Linked DNA regions of Homo sapiens: regions 1, 2, 3 and 5 are each linked to region 4. The links are contacts of gene promoters, found by promoter capture Hi-C in human tissues and cell types (Jung and others, 2019). All regions are on one chromosome and are shown on one strand. The core of a region is centred on a gene start or on the middle of the fragment in contact, and the rest is flanking DNA. Distances in the headings are between cores, read along the strand shown.

The links. Contacts are between HindIII fragments. The study calls those that stand out against the background at their distance.
Region 1: a contact is called between a fragment that was not itself captured here and the fragment with the promoter of PDILT in region 4, in 2 of the 25 tissues and cell types used here (lymphoblastoid cells and mesendoderm cells).
Region 2: a fragment that was not itself captured here is called in contact with the fragment with the promoter of PDILT in region 4 in 3 of the 25 tissues and cell types used here (heart right ventricle, mesendoderm cells and thymus).
Region 3: a contact is called between a fragment that was not itself captured here and the fragment with the promoter of PDILT in region 4, in 1 of the 25 tissues and cell types used here (mesendoderm cells).
Region 5: a fragment that was not itself captured here is called in contact with the fragment with the promoter of PDILT in region 4 in 2 of the 25 tissues and cell types used here (dorsolateral prefrontal cortex and lymphoblastoid cells).

Annotation. Positions count from the first base shown.
Region 1 is chr16:20,011,631-20,014,330 of GRCh38, forward strand. No RefSeq gene overlaps it. Among named protein-coding and RNA genes, the nearest start is that of GPR139, 61 kb to the right of the region's middle. The HindIII fragment of the contact is 3,127 bases long and covers 1-2,700 here.
Region 2 is chr16:19,930,548-19,933,247 of GRCh38, forward strand. No RefSeq gene overlaps it. Among named protein-coding and RNA genes, the nearest start is that of GPRC5B, 47 kb to the left of the region's middle. The HindIII fragment of the contact is 4,266 bases long and covers 1-2,700 here.
Region 3 is chr16:19,993,344-19,996,043 of GRCh38, forward strand. No RefSeq gene overlaps it. Among named protein-coding and RNA genes, the nearest start is that of GPR139, 79 kb to the right of the region's middle. The HindIII fragment of the contact is 6,383 bases long and covers 1-2,700 here.
Region 4 is chr16:20,403,464-20,406,163 of GRCh38, forward strand. PDILT (protein disulfide isomerase like, testis expressed) reads right to left here and starts at 1,274. Exons shown (of 12, transcript NM_174924.2): 1 at 1,033-1,274. The HindIII fragment of the contact is 3,912 bases long and covers 1-2,700 here.
Region 5 is chr16:19,954,761-19,957,460 of GRCh38, forward strand. No RefSeq gene overlaps it. Among named protein-coding and RNA genes, the nearest start is that of GPRC5B, 71 kb to the left of the region's middle. The HindIII fragment of the contact is 3,423 bases long and covers 1-2,700 here.

The DNA of each region.
Region 1 (2,700 bases), core at 201-2,700, 390 kb before region 4:
GACTCCACGTGGAGATGATAGCTGGACAGCTGAGGATGCATGAAATGCACGCAGAGACTCCCAGAAATATTGAACAGGGGACCTGCGTGAATACATGGAGGCAAGCCATGGAAAATGTAAGACACTGGGATGAATGGAGCATTTTCAAGGTAGCTCTTTCTGTGTTTATAGCAAGGTGAGGCAGGGGTATATTTGTTACACAGTTTAGCCTTTTCTGGACTTGGGGATACTATTGGCATCAGTTAGTTCCTTTTATAACTCTAGCAGCATATGTGTAAACCAAAAAGAAAAGTTAATCTTCCAAAAACAATGTTGCTTCCCCAGGCATGATCTCTCATATCATAAGGTCTCCTTCTGTCTCCTTGATTCATTTCTTCATTTCCTTCATGTCTACAGGAATAAATCACAGAAGGCTAGTTCTGGGATCATCACTTAGGGGTTATTTGGAACCCATGTATGGGAGAGTTTTGTCTTAAGCTAAGCAGAGCTCTTGTAAGCCTTGTCTGTCCACATCATCTGGATCCCTCATCAGGTGTTTGTGCGTAAGGACCAAACTCCAAAATCCATGGTAGCCAATAATCCTGACATTTTTGGAGGACCAGCTACTTCAGAGTGACTTTCAATCTTGGATTATTTAGGTCACTAATTAAAACAACAACAACAACAAACTGCCTTTGTGACCTCAATATCCATCCATCCATCTATACATCCATCCATTGATTTATTTATCTATTCATCCCCAAACTATTTAATGAGTACAACTACTAAGTACTGGGCTTAAGGTTTGCAGAAGAAAATATTTTGTATTCTCCTGAGTAATGTGAACTTATTCCAGGATTCAATACCCTCCTTTTCATACTTATGCATAAATCACCTATAAGAAAACCCTTTTGTTTTATTTTATGAAGTGTAAATGTTGTTTTCTGATAATAAAATTGATGTATAATTGTATTAGTTCATCCTTGCACTGCTGTGAAGAAATACCTGAGACTGGGTAATTTATAAATAAAAGAGGTTTAATCGGTTCACAGTATAGGAAGCACAGTGGCTTCTGCTTCTGGGGAGGCCTCAGGAAACTTACAATCACAGCAGAAGATGAAGTGGAAGCAGGCATGTCTTACATGGCTGGAGGGAGCAGGAGGAAGAGAGAGAATGGGGAGGTGCCACATGCTCTTAAACAGATCTCATATTAACTCACTCACTCACTCCCATGAGAACAGCACCAAGGGGATGGTGCTAAACCATTCGTGAAAGTTCCAATCACCTCCCACCAGGCCCCACCTTCAACATTGAGGCTTACAACTGACCATGGTATCCAAACCATAGCAATAATCGTTGAAAAACCTTCATTAAATCAGATATTTACAATTTAGATAGTGAAAATTCTTTTAAAACAAGATGGAATTATACTATACCTCCTATTTTCACTTAAAAATCTAAGGTAGATATCTTAGCCATGAGTCCATACAGATCTAACTCATTATTTTCAAATAGCTTCATAGTATTCCATTTTACGGAGGTACAATAATTTATTTAATACATTTCTTATTGATGAGCATTTAGAACAGTTCCAGTAATTTACTGTTATCAAACAAGGCTGCAATACCTTTGTTCAAATATATTTGTATGGTTTGTCAACAATTCAAAACATGATAAATGCCTAGAACTAGGATTGCTGAGTCAAATGGTAGGTGTATTAATAGCTATTGCTAACTTCCCTTCTAAAAAGTTTATGTGAATTTAAACTACTACTAGTAGTATGTACGAGTGTACACATTTCCCCACACTCTCACTCACACTGTGTGTCAGTGACATCTGGCAAGATAGAATAACCTCATGTTGTTTTACTTTGCATCTCTTGAAGTAATAATAAGCTTTAATATGTTTTCAGATGTTTATTATCATTAGTGGTTCTTATTTTATAAATTGCCTCTTCAAATTCTTTGCAAATTTTTACAGGGGTGTTCTTCTTTTTCTTTTTTCTTTTTAACTACTCTTTATAGATTGAGTATGGATAAGGTTTGGCTGTGTCCACACCCAAATCTCATCTTGAATTGTAGTTCCCATAATCCCCACGTATGTGGGAGGGACCGGGTGGGAGGTAATTGAATCATGGGGGCAGTTTCCCTCTTGCTGTTCTTGTGATAGTGAGTTCTCATGAGATCTGGTAGATTTATAAGGGGCTTTTCCCCCTTTTTGCTTGCACTTCTTTTTGCTGCCGCCATGTGAATAAGGACGTATTTACTTCCCCTTCCACCATGCTTGTAAGTTGCCTGAGGTATCCCCAGCCATGCTGAACTGTGAGTCAATTAAACCTCTTTCCTTTATAAATTACCCACTGTTGGGTATTTCTCCATAGCATCATGAGAATGGGCTAATACAGGCATGAACTCAGTATTTTGTGTGTGTGTTCATGTTTTTTACAGTATGCTTGCTTTAAATATATTGACAATGTCTTTTATCATGAAGGAGTTTAAACTGTTTGTATGATTAGGTCTGTAAGTCTTTTCATTCCTTTTCCTCCCTGGTTTTTGGTGTTATGCCAAGGAAAGCTATTGTTAAAGTAAATTAAAATGAAAACCAAGTGGGAAGAATCCCTGAGCAAACAAAGCCAGTTTGGTCTCAATAAGTGACCTTAACCTTGTTTGATTTGCAAACATAAGTGAAACTTAACTTGTGCTATTTCTTATAAAAGACTGT
Region 2 (2,700 bases), core at 133-2,632, 470 kb before region 4:
ACTCTTGGACATTCTATAGACAAATCAACCTCTATGTGTCTTCATTTTCTTATCTGTAAGTAGAGATGATGATTAGCACAATAATAAAATAATAGTACTACCTAGAGCTGTCTCAAGATTAAATGGGTTAGTACACATGAAGTGCTTGGAACAGTACCTAATACATGTTAGTCAAAAGTGATAGCAACAGTCATAAAACAACGACTAGTGCCAAGCCCTGGGCGATGCATTTGGTATGTATTACTGCATTTGAACCTGGTAAGAGCCCTTTTTGAAGAGGTGACAGGATTTGCCGAAGTCCCACAGTCACGACCTCAGCTCCGCAGCTCATGTGTGCCTTTAGCCCTTGGTGGGACCCTGCGAAAGAGTATAAACGGTGCAAACCTTTAAGGTTGTACGCCAGAACTTCAGTTTATTGAGTACCTACTGTGTGCAGGACATTTTGTTAAGTGCATTATCTCATTTAATCTTCACTGTGACTCTATGAGGTAGGTGCTCTCACTAGCCCCATTTTCTTTTCTTTCTTTCTTTCTTTCTTTTTTCTTTTTTTTTTAAGACAGAATCTCGCTCTGTCACCCAGGTTGGAGTGCAGTGGGGCTATCAGAGCTCACTGCAGCCTCTACCTCCTGGGCCCAAGAGCTACTACTGCCTCAGCCTTGTGAGTAGCTAGGAATATAGCAAATGCTACCACACCCAGCTAATTATTATTATTTTTTTTTTTTGTAGAGATGAGGTCTTGCTCTGTTGCCCAGGCTGGTCTCAAACTCCTGGACTCAAGTGGTCCTCCTGCCTCAGCCTCCCAAAGCGCTGGGATTAAAGTGCGAGCCACTGCACTTGGTCCTACTTTCATAGAGAGAAACTGAGGCACAGGGGCCTGTGTCTTTTTCATTTCTGAGGTCTTAGTACCCATGCTGGGTCGGTTGGGTGTAACTGTTTGCTGAATGAGAGGTTGACTTCAGCTTCTGGGATTCACTTGTGGTCTGTTTCATCCATCATAAGAAATGGGGAAGGGAGCAAGAGCTGAGTGGGGTTTTGAGAGGAATGCACAGTGAGCGCCCGGGGCAGAGAGCCCTCTGGAAATGCCAGCTGGGAACACTGAGATGCCTTGCCTTGCTGTCTGTGAGTGTTTATAGGGAGCTGTCTGACAAATCTAGCCCGGTAGCCACTGTGGTGACTTATGAAGCTCAACCAAAGGTGTGTGATCAACTCTGAGCACAGTTGGAGGAGGTCTGGGGTGTCTTCCCTGACCTGGGGAGGTTTGGCTTCATGTAGGGTCATGTGTGCGCATGCATGTGGGGAGGGGTACAGCAGGAGATAGTTTGTGTGGTCACAGATAAAGGTGCTTATGACCTTTGTGTGACTTTCACCTTGGCATAGGGAAGAGATTCTCTGTGAAGCATCTGTTGAGTTTAAATGTCACTCTGGTGTGGGGGGTTACGGAAAAGGCAGAATCTAAACTGGGTACAAATCTGTCCAAGTCACTTTGGGTAAGTTACTCAACCTCTCTCTGCTTCAATTTTCTCATCTACACAAGGGGAATAATATTCTCACTCTCACTATCATAATGCCTAGAACAAGTGGGTGCCCCGTAACTTGCTGCTTCCACCCCTCCGAAGTGGATTATTTCTGCAGGAATCAGGAGAACCCACATATGCCTTGGAGGCAGTCTGGGCTTGCTCATTTTCTTTTTTTTTTTGAGATGGAGTCTCTGTCACCCAGGCTGGAGTGCAGTGGCACTATCTCGGCTCACTGCAACCTCCGCCTCACGGGTACCAGCGATTCTCCTGCCTCAACCTCCTGAGTAGCTGGCATTACAGGTGCCTGCCACCATGTTTGGCTAATTGTTGTTAGTTTTTTTTTTTTTTTTTTTTGAGACGGAGTCTCACTCTCTTGCCCAGACTGGAGTGCAGTGGCATGATCTCGGCTCACTGCAATCTCTCCCTCCTGGATTCAAGCAATCCTCCTGCCTCAGCCTCCTGGGATTACAGGTGTGCACGACCACGCCCGGCTAATTTTTCTATTTTCAGTAGAGATAGGGTTACACCATGTTGGTCAGGCTGGTCTCTAACTCCTGACCTCAAGTGATCCACCCACCTCGGTCTCCCAAAGTGCCACCGTGCCCGCCTGGCTTGCTCATTTTCAAACCCTTTTAGGCCTCAGTTGCATTACCTGTAAAATGGGAATGACAGCAACTAGCCTGGTAGTGTGGTGATCACCAAAGGAAAGAATGAATGTAACATGTTTGGCCATGGTAACCATTCATGTTAGTTTTCTTTTCTTGTTCCTTTTCTCCATTCATTTCTTCGAAGCTGGGTTTCCTGACCCAGGAGAATATGGACAGGATTTGTGGGGGTGGGACTGGGAGATCTCAGAGCTTTCTATGGTACCTTTTGTATCCTTTGATAGGTTTGACTCTTGTAACAGCTCCAGGAGGTAGGGTAGGTGTCATCTCCATGTAATGAATAAGAAAAGCAAGGCCCAAAGGGATCAAGAAACTTACCAAGGAGTGTCCAGCAATGAGGGTGGAGCCGTGCCTAGACCCCAAGCCTCCTACCTCCCACCTATTGTTCTTTATATAGCAGTGGTTCTCGACTGGAAATGTCCACCCAAGGGGACATTTTGGCCATGTCTGGAGACATTTTTGGATGCCACAATTTGGGGTAGGTGTGCTACCAGCATCTAGTGGGTAGAGGACAGAGG
Region 3 (2,700 bases), core at 35-2,534, 410 kb before region 4:
AGGGAAGATGGACTTGTTACTGAAGACACTGTAGGGAGATGAAGAGGTATGTTTACATTGCACAGCACACAGTAGAAACTTATTGATATGGTTTGGCTGCATCCCCTCCCAAGTCTTATCTTGAATTGTAGCTCCCATAATTCTCACATCTCGTGGGAGGGATCCGGTGGGAGGTAATTGAATCATGGGGGTGGGTCTTTCCCATGCTCTTCTTGTTATAGTGAATAAGTCTCATGAGATGTGATGGTTTTATAAAGGGCAGCTCCCCTGCACAGGTCCTCTTGCCTGCTGCCATGTAAAACATCCCTTTGCTCTTCCTTTGTCTTCTGCCATGATTGTGAGGCTTCCCCGGCCACGTGGAACTGTGAATCCATTAAACCTCTTTCCTTTATATATTACCCAGTCTCGGGTATGTCTTTATTAGTAGCATGAGAACAGGCTAATACACTTATGTTCCCTCCTAGTCTTCTCCCCAAAGCTTCTTACCCCTGGTAGCCACCTCATTTACTCTCATCTTCCCCTACACAGACTCCTGGGTTTCATTCTGATTTATAGAATCAGAATCCAAGAAGGCAAGGCCTGGGAACATGAATTTTAACAAATATCCCAGATGATAGTCACGCGCAGGAAAGTTTGAGAGTCACGGCACGAGACATAGTCCAGATTTTCAGTTTTTAGGATATGGGCTTTTTAAAAAAACCAAGCCTTGAATGACAAACTGCCTGAATTTGAATTGCAGCTCCGGTGTTTGTTACCTCTGTGATTTCTGCAAGTCATTTTATCACTGTGAGCCTCAGTAACCTCATCAGTAAAATGGGGCTGATGATAGTATCTATCTCATTGGGTGATAATAAAAGTTAATTCATTTGCTCATTAATTCATTAATTCACTTGATATTTATTGAGCACCTTTGGTGTATCATGACCTCTTCTAGGCATTGAGGAATATAGAAGTAGAACAGACACACACATACATGCACACACATATGCACACACATATACCTTGTCCTAATTGAACCAGTGCAAGGGTTTTGGCATACTTTTCCTGTAAAGAGCTAGACAGTAAATATTTTAGGCTTTACAGGCCACAAATGACTTCTATGACCTATCTTTCTTTGTTTTTTTCTAAAACTCTTTAAAAATGAAAAACCATTCTTAGCTCATGGGCTGTGCAAAGACAAGCCACAAGCTGATCCGTGTTGTAGTGGATTAAATGGAATAATAGCTATAAAGTATTCTAGCAGACATGATGATGATGATGTGAAGTGCTTAGCACAGCTCCTGGCCTGGAGCCTGGGCTCCGTAAGTAGTTAGCTGTTTCATTTGCCAACCTTAACCCCCAGTGATGCTCCCTTGAGCTTTATGCTCCTGCCCTGGTCACCGTTCTGTGGTATCTTGTATCAGACCCAGACCCGTTGGCCACTCAGCCTTGCGGAAGTGAGCAAGACCCTTCCTGCTGCTCTCTTCCTTTCCACAAGGTCAGAGGGGTAGATGTGGGCATCCATCCTCCCTTCGGTCACGGCTGGCAGCCCCTGGCAGTCCTGCTGGTGGTCTCTCGCTTGGCCAGGGCACACTTCCGTCCGACTCCTCTGCCTCCTGGGGAAAATAGTTGGAACCAGCTGGGATGACTCACAATGCGGCGGCCACGCGGCTTGGCTCTCTGCAGGGCCACAGCCTCTTTGTGTGTCAGCTCAGGGGGTGGCGGAAATGGATGGGCCGCCGCTCAAGATGTCCTCTTGCCAGGATGGGGCAACCTGAGGACATATCTCTGCTGCCTGATGCTTTCTGGACATGAAATGAAATGGTCCAGGGCTAAATCAGGTTCCCCACTGGGCAGTCAGCCATGGGCTCTCACATCCTGGGGAAAATTGGGGACTGAGTTGGCCTTTGGCATTTTGAGGGGCTCCAGAGCTCCCGGTGTCAGTGGATTGGCATGTCCCATTTTTGAGGCCTGGTACCACTCTGCTGTCTTTAATTACATGGCAAATGTTGTCCCCGAAAAGGAAACTTCCCCAAGTGTGGCTGAGAGGACAGTCCTCATCCATCTCCTTGCCCTCTTCTGACCCTCTCTATAATCCATCTTCCACGCTACAGTCAGCATGATCTTTTAAAAATGTAACTTTGATCTTGACTTTCCTGCTTTAAAATACTTCAATGGCTCTTCATAACTTTCAGAATAAAATCAAGAGTCTTTTGAGAAAATAATTTCAACTTTTAGATTTGGGGTTGCATTTACAGGTTTGTTACATGGGTATATTGCGTGATACTGAGATTTACAGTACAGATCCCGCCACCCAGGGGGTGAGCACAGGACCCAATACATAGCGTTTCAACCCATGCCCACCTCTCTTGTGTTTCTCAGCGTCTATTGTTCCCTTCTTTGTGTCCACGTGTACTCAATGTTTAGCTCCCACATATAAGTGAGAACGTGTGGTATTTGCTTTTCTGTTCCCGTGTTAATTGGCTTTGGATAATGGCCTCCAGCTGCATCCATGTTGCCACAAAGGACATGATTTCATTCTTTTTTATGGCTGGGTAGTATTCCATGGTGTGTATGTACTACATTTTCTTTATCCAATCCACTGTTGATGGGCACCTGGTCGATCCCATGTCTTTGCTATTATTAATAGTGCTGCCATGAACCCATGAGTGCATGTGTCTTTTTGGCATAATAATTTATTTTCCTCTGGGTATATATCCA
Region 4 (2,700 bases), core at 24-2,523:
ATTTTTAGTAGAAACGGGATTTCACCATGTTGGCCAGGCTGGTCTCAAACTCCTGACCTCAGGTGATCCACCTGCCTGGGCCTCCCAAAGTGCTGAGATTGCAGGCGTGAGCCACCGTGCCCAGCAGAGATTTCCTTTCGACACAGGAATTCCATCACACCACTGTGCCTATCAAAAGGTGCTCACTTTTGTGCAAAAAAAAGCTTCTGCCTCTTTTTTTTTTACAATCCATTCGCAAAACCGCACACCAGCCAAACTGTTCTCTGTGGTCTACCAGGCCCCACTGGCTCTGGACCCATCTGACCTTATCGCCCTCCTCTCTCTCTCTCCTCCCGCACTCTGGGGAGCCACACTGGCCTCTTCCCTTTCCCAAGCACACCCTACCCGGGGCCTTTGCCTCTGTCTGGGGCACCCTTCCCTCACATCGTCAGCCTTTTCTGGTTCTCTGGGTCCTAGCTCGAATCCACGCTCATCAGAAGGGTCTTCCCGGGCCACTCTGTCTCACCCCATCTCAGCTTTCAGCACTCTCTGCCATATCACCATTGTTTGCATCATATTTTGTATTATTATTTATGAGTGTACTTTGTTGTTGTTGTCATTTTGAACTTTTTAATGTAAATACCATTGTTCACAGCTGTTTTCTCCCCTTCAGAACAGTGCCTGTACCAGATTTGGAACTCAATGAATGTTTGTTGAATGAATGAATGAATGGCCTAATTTAACTCTTACAGCAAACCCCATTGGTTCATTTCAGTGGTTCTCAACCATGACTATGCTGAGAATCTCTTGGAGAGTTTAATAAAAAATACTGATGTTCAAACCCAAACCCAGTAGGTTCTAATTTAATTGATCTGGGGTTGGGTGAGTCTGGGCATTATTATTATTTTTTAAAATCCTCAAGTTGATCCTAATGTGTAGCCATCTATACACCAAAACTGACACTTAAAACTTAAACTGGTGACTCCTGGTAGAGAAAAGCCTCCCAAGGCAGGGCCCATCAGTCAGATTTCCCATTTTCACTGAAGCTCATACCTGCAGGAAGCCAAGGCCACTCCCAGGGTTCCTGGGGCCAAGGTGGGGCTGTGCTGGGGGTGGGGCCACAAACTCTGTGGCCCTTAAGAAGGAAGGTTGTAGCCTGAAGAGGAGGCTCCTGGCTTCTCCTTGTGATCAGGGCAGGACCCGCAGACGACTGGGCATTCTAAAGAATCCACAGGCAGAAATGAAGTCCCTTCCTGGGCACACAGAGGCCACAGCAGCCTCAGCAGCAAAGTTCTGAGTTCTGGGGTTCTAGAGGACCAGGGGTGACCCTGTAGAAGAATGGGCCATTGTTGAGTAAGAGGGGGCCCTGCCTGGCAGCCCTTGCTGAGTTTGCTTGAGGGGCTAGAAACAAAACTCAGTGTGGGGTGCTGGGTATGGCCCAGGAGGGCTCTGAACTCAGTGCCTATAGATTGGAATTTGAATCCCAGCTCTGTCTTGAACAGCTGTATGGCCTTGAGAATGTCACTTACTCTTTCTGAGGTTCAGTTTCCATGCCTGTTACATGGCATCTAACTCATGGGGGTGTTGTAAGCAAAGTAAATTATGTGGAATTTAGAAGATAATTAATGATATGAAGAAAAATAAAACCTGGAAGGATGATGAGGAACGCCTGAGAGGGGGATGGGATAAAATAAGAGGATTTATGCAAAACGAGCAGCTCAGTACCTAGAAGGCAGGAGCCCCTCACGCATCACCACCCTGGCCTCATCTCCTAGGGGAGAAAGATCTCCACTCACCCTGCTCCAGCCACACTGGTGTCCCTGCCAGTCCTCCAATACAATGTCTGGGCCTCTACACTTGTGGTTTCCCCTGTTAGGGAGGCTCTTCACCCAGGTGGACTCAGGGTTCACCCCTTAGCTCGTTCCAGTCTTTGCCCAAATGTCACTTCCACAGTTGGGCCTTTCCTGGCCACTTTGTTTAAATTTGTAAGTGCCCCATCCCCCTCTCAGGCGTTCCTCATCCTCCTTCCAGGCTTTATTTTCCTTCATAGCATTAATTTTCTTCTAAACTCCACATAATTTACTTTGCTTACCTGGTGATAGGTGCTCAGTAAATATTTGTTGAATGAATAAAGAAAAGGCTGTTGATATTATTAGCATCGTTATTACTGTCAGAGTTTGCAGCCTTTGGCTATCTGCTGCCCAACTGTTATTAAATACTGATGGAGATGACTAACATTCATTTCACTAAATTTTAACATCTGTGGGTTTTAGTCCTAGCGCTTTGCTCTTCTCTTTCTTTTCTTTTTCTTTGAGACAGTGTAGTGGCGCGATCTCCACTCACTGTAGCCTTCACCTCCAGGGTTCAAGCGGTTCTCCTGCCTCAGCCTCCTGAGTAGCTGGGACTACAGGCATGCACCACCACGTCTGGCTAATTTTTGTATTTTTAGTAGAGACGGGGTTTCACCACATTGGCCAGGTCGGTCTCAAACTCCTGACCTCAAATGATCTGCCTGCCTCGGCCTCCCAAAGTGCTGGGATTACAGGCGTGAGCCACGGCATGCGGCCCCACTCTTCTCTTTCCATACTTAACTTCCATACTTTTGTTGGCTTGTTTAAATGCATGACTTCAAATACACCCCTTTATAAGTTACTCTCTCATTTACTCTCCAGGATTTGATCAATTGATTACATTTACTATTAAGACCGTTTTCCATCTGCC
Region 5 (2,700 bases), core at 134-2,633, 450 kb before region 4:
GCGTGGTGGCACACGCCTGTTATCCCAGCTATTTGGGAGACTGAGGCACGAGAATTACTTGAACCTGAGAGGCAGAGGTTGCAGTGAGCCGAGATCATGCCACTGCACTCCAGCCTGGGAGACAGAGTGAGACTCTGTCTCAAAAAAAAAAAAAAAAAAGTAATAGATTCTTGGTGAGGTTTGGGTACATATGGTGTTAGCCATGAGCCCTAGCTATGCTAGAAAGAGTTAAGACATTATCTGCAGTTCTGTCCTATGTCCTAGACTCTGCACCTGATACATAATTATACTTGCTTATGCTAAAAATAAAAATTATATGTTTTTGGTAAAAAGGCATGGGAATGTGGATTTTAAGAAAAAGTAATTTGTCTAATTTAAAGGGTTTGTAAAAGGAAAATAAATCTTGGAAATCTTGGGGCCCCAAAATCACTACGCTAAAGGGAAAAGTCAAGCTGGGAACTGCTTAAGGCAAACCTGCTTTCCATTCTATCCAAAGTCATTCCTCTGCTCACTGAGATAAATGCGCATCTGTTTGCCTCCCTTGGAAAGGCTAATCAGAAACTCAAAAGATACCATTCAGGACATAGGCATGGGCAAAGGCTTCATGACTAAAACACCAAAAGCAATGGCAACAGAAGCCAAAATTGACAAATGGGACCTAATTTAATTAAAGAGCTTCTGCACAGCAAAAGAAACTACCATCAGAGTGAACAGGCAACCGACAGAATGGGAGAAAATTTTCACCATCTATCCATCTGACAAAGGGCTAATATCCAGAATCTACAAAGAACTTAAACAAATTTACAAGAAAAAAACAAACAACCCCATCAAAAAGTGGGCAAAGGATATGAACAGACATTTTGCAAAAGAAGATATTTATGCAGCCAACAAACATATGAAAAAAGCTCATCATCACTGGTCGTTAGAGAAATGCAAATCAAAACCACAATGAGATACCATCTCACACCAGTTAGAATGGCAATCATTAAAAAGTCAGGAAACAACAGGTGCTGGAGAGGATGTGGAGAAATAGGAATGCTTTTACACTGTTGGTGGGAATGTAAATTAGTTCAACCATTGTGGAAGACAGTGTGGCAATTCCTCAAGGATCTAGAACCAGAAATACCATTTGACCCAGCAATCCCATTACTATGTATATACCTAAAGGATTATAAATCATGCTGCTATAAAGACACATGCACACGTATGTTTATTGCAGCACTGTTCACAATAGCAAAGACTTGGAACCAACCCAAATGCCCATCAATGACAGGCTGCATAAAGAAAAAGTGGCACATATACACCATGGAATACTATGCAGCCATAAAAAAGGATGAGTTCATGTCCTTTGCAGGGACATGGATGAAGCTGGAAACCATCATTCTCAGCAAACTAACACAAGAACAGAAAACCAAACATCGCATGTTCTCACTCGTAAGTGGGAGTTGAAAAATGAGAACACATGGACAGAGGGAGGGGAACATCACACACTGGGGCCTGTCAGGGGGTGGGGGACTAGGGGAGGGATAGCATTAGCAGAAATAACTAATGTAGATGATGGGTTGATGGGTGCAGCAAACCACCATGGCACGTGTATACCTATGTAATAAACCTGTATGTTCTGCACAGGTATCTCAGAAGTTAAAGTATAATAATAAAACAAATAATAATTTAAAAAAGCAGAAGAAAAAAAAGAATGCAACCCATTTGTCTCTCACCTACCTGTGACCTGGAAGCCCCCTCCCTGCTTGAGTTATCCCATTTTTCCAGAGGGAACCAACGTATAGTACATCTTACATGTATTGATTGATGCCTCATATCTCCCTAAAAGTAAAAAACCAAGCTGTGCCTTGACCACCTTGGGCACATGTTATCAAGACCTCCTGAGGCTGTATCTCGGGCGTCTGTCCTCAACCTTGGCTAAATAAACTTTCTAAATTAACTGAGACCTGTCTGAGATTTTCAGGGTTTGCAGGTTTAAAGCTTGTCTTAGGTTAAAAGAAAGGTAGAATAAAACTGATGGTTTAAGCAAGTTGAAGAAGGTTTGTGACAAATTAATATTATTAAGAAAATTCTGTGTGTGAGCAAGTTGGCTAAAATTAAGATTATTATTTAGTTTTCCCATAAATTACACATTAAAATAAAATCATATTGATGCAGGGCCAGAATTTGGGCCCATGTGTCAGAACAACAGGGTTTTCTTGGAGTATTGATCTGTTCTTTAACAAAAAATTATAAAGGGTTATAAAAGGTTTATAAAATTCTTACCTTATGGTCAAATGGGTTACAATTCGATAGATTTCCTTATAAAATTTTATTAAAATGAACTTTAGCATTAATACACTAATGCAGAGGTAGCATATGGTTTTCCCTTTTAAGCAAGATTTTCATTTGCCTGCAGGAAAAAGGGAGAGAGAAGAGACAGATTCAGCTGGCTTCATGCTGTCTTTTTTGGTTTTTGTTGTTTGGAAAGCTGTCTCCTCTCTATAAAAGACTAATGGAGTTTTGCTTTTTTGAAATATTTGAGTTAATCACTTTGACTAAAATAAACTGTGGTTCTATTTTGTGATGAAAAGTGTTTTAAACCTTTGATATTTGATTAACTTTTCAAAATCATACTCTAATCTTTTTTTGACTTGATTGACCTTTTTAGATATTAGGTTCCCTGAAGTCCAAAAGAGACGTATCTAGCTTATTTGG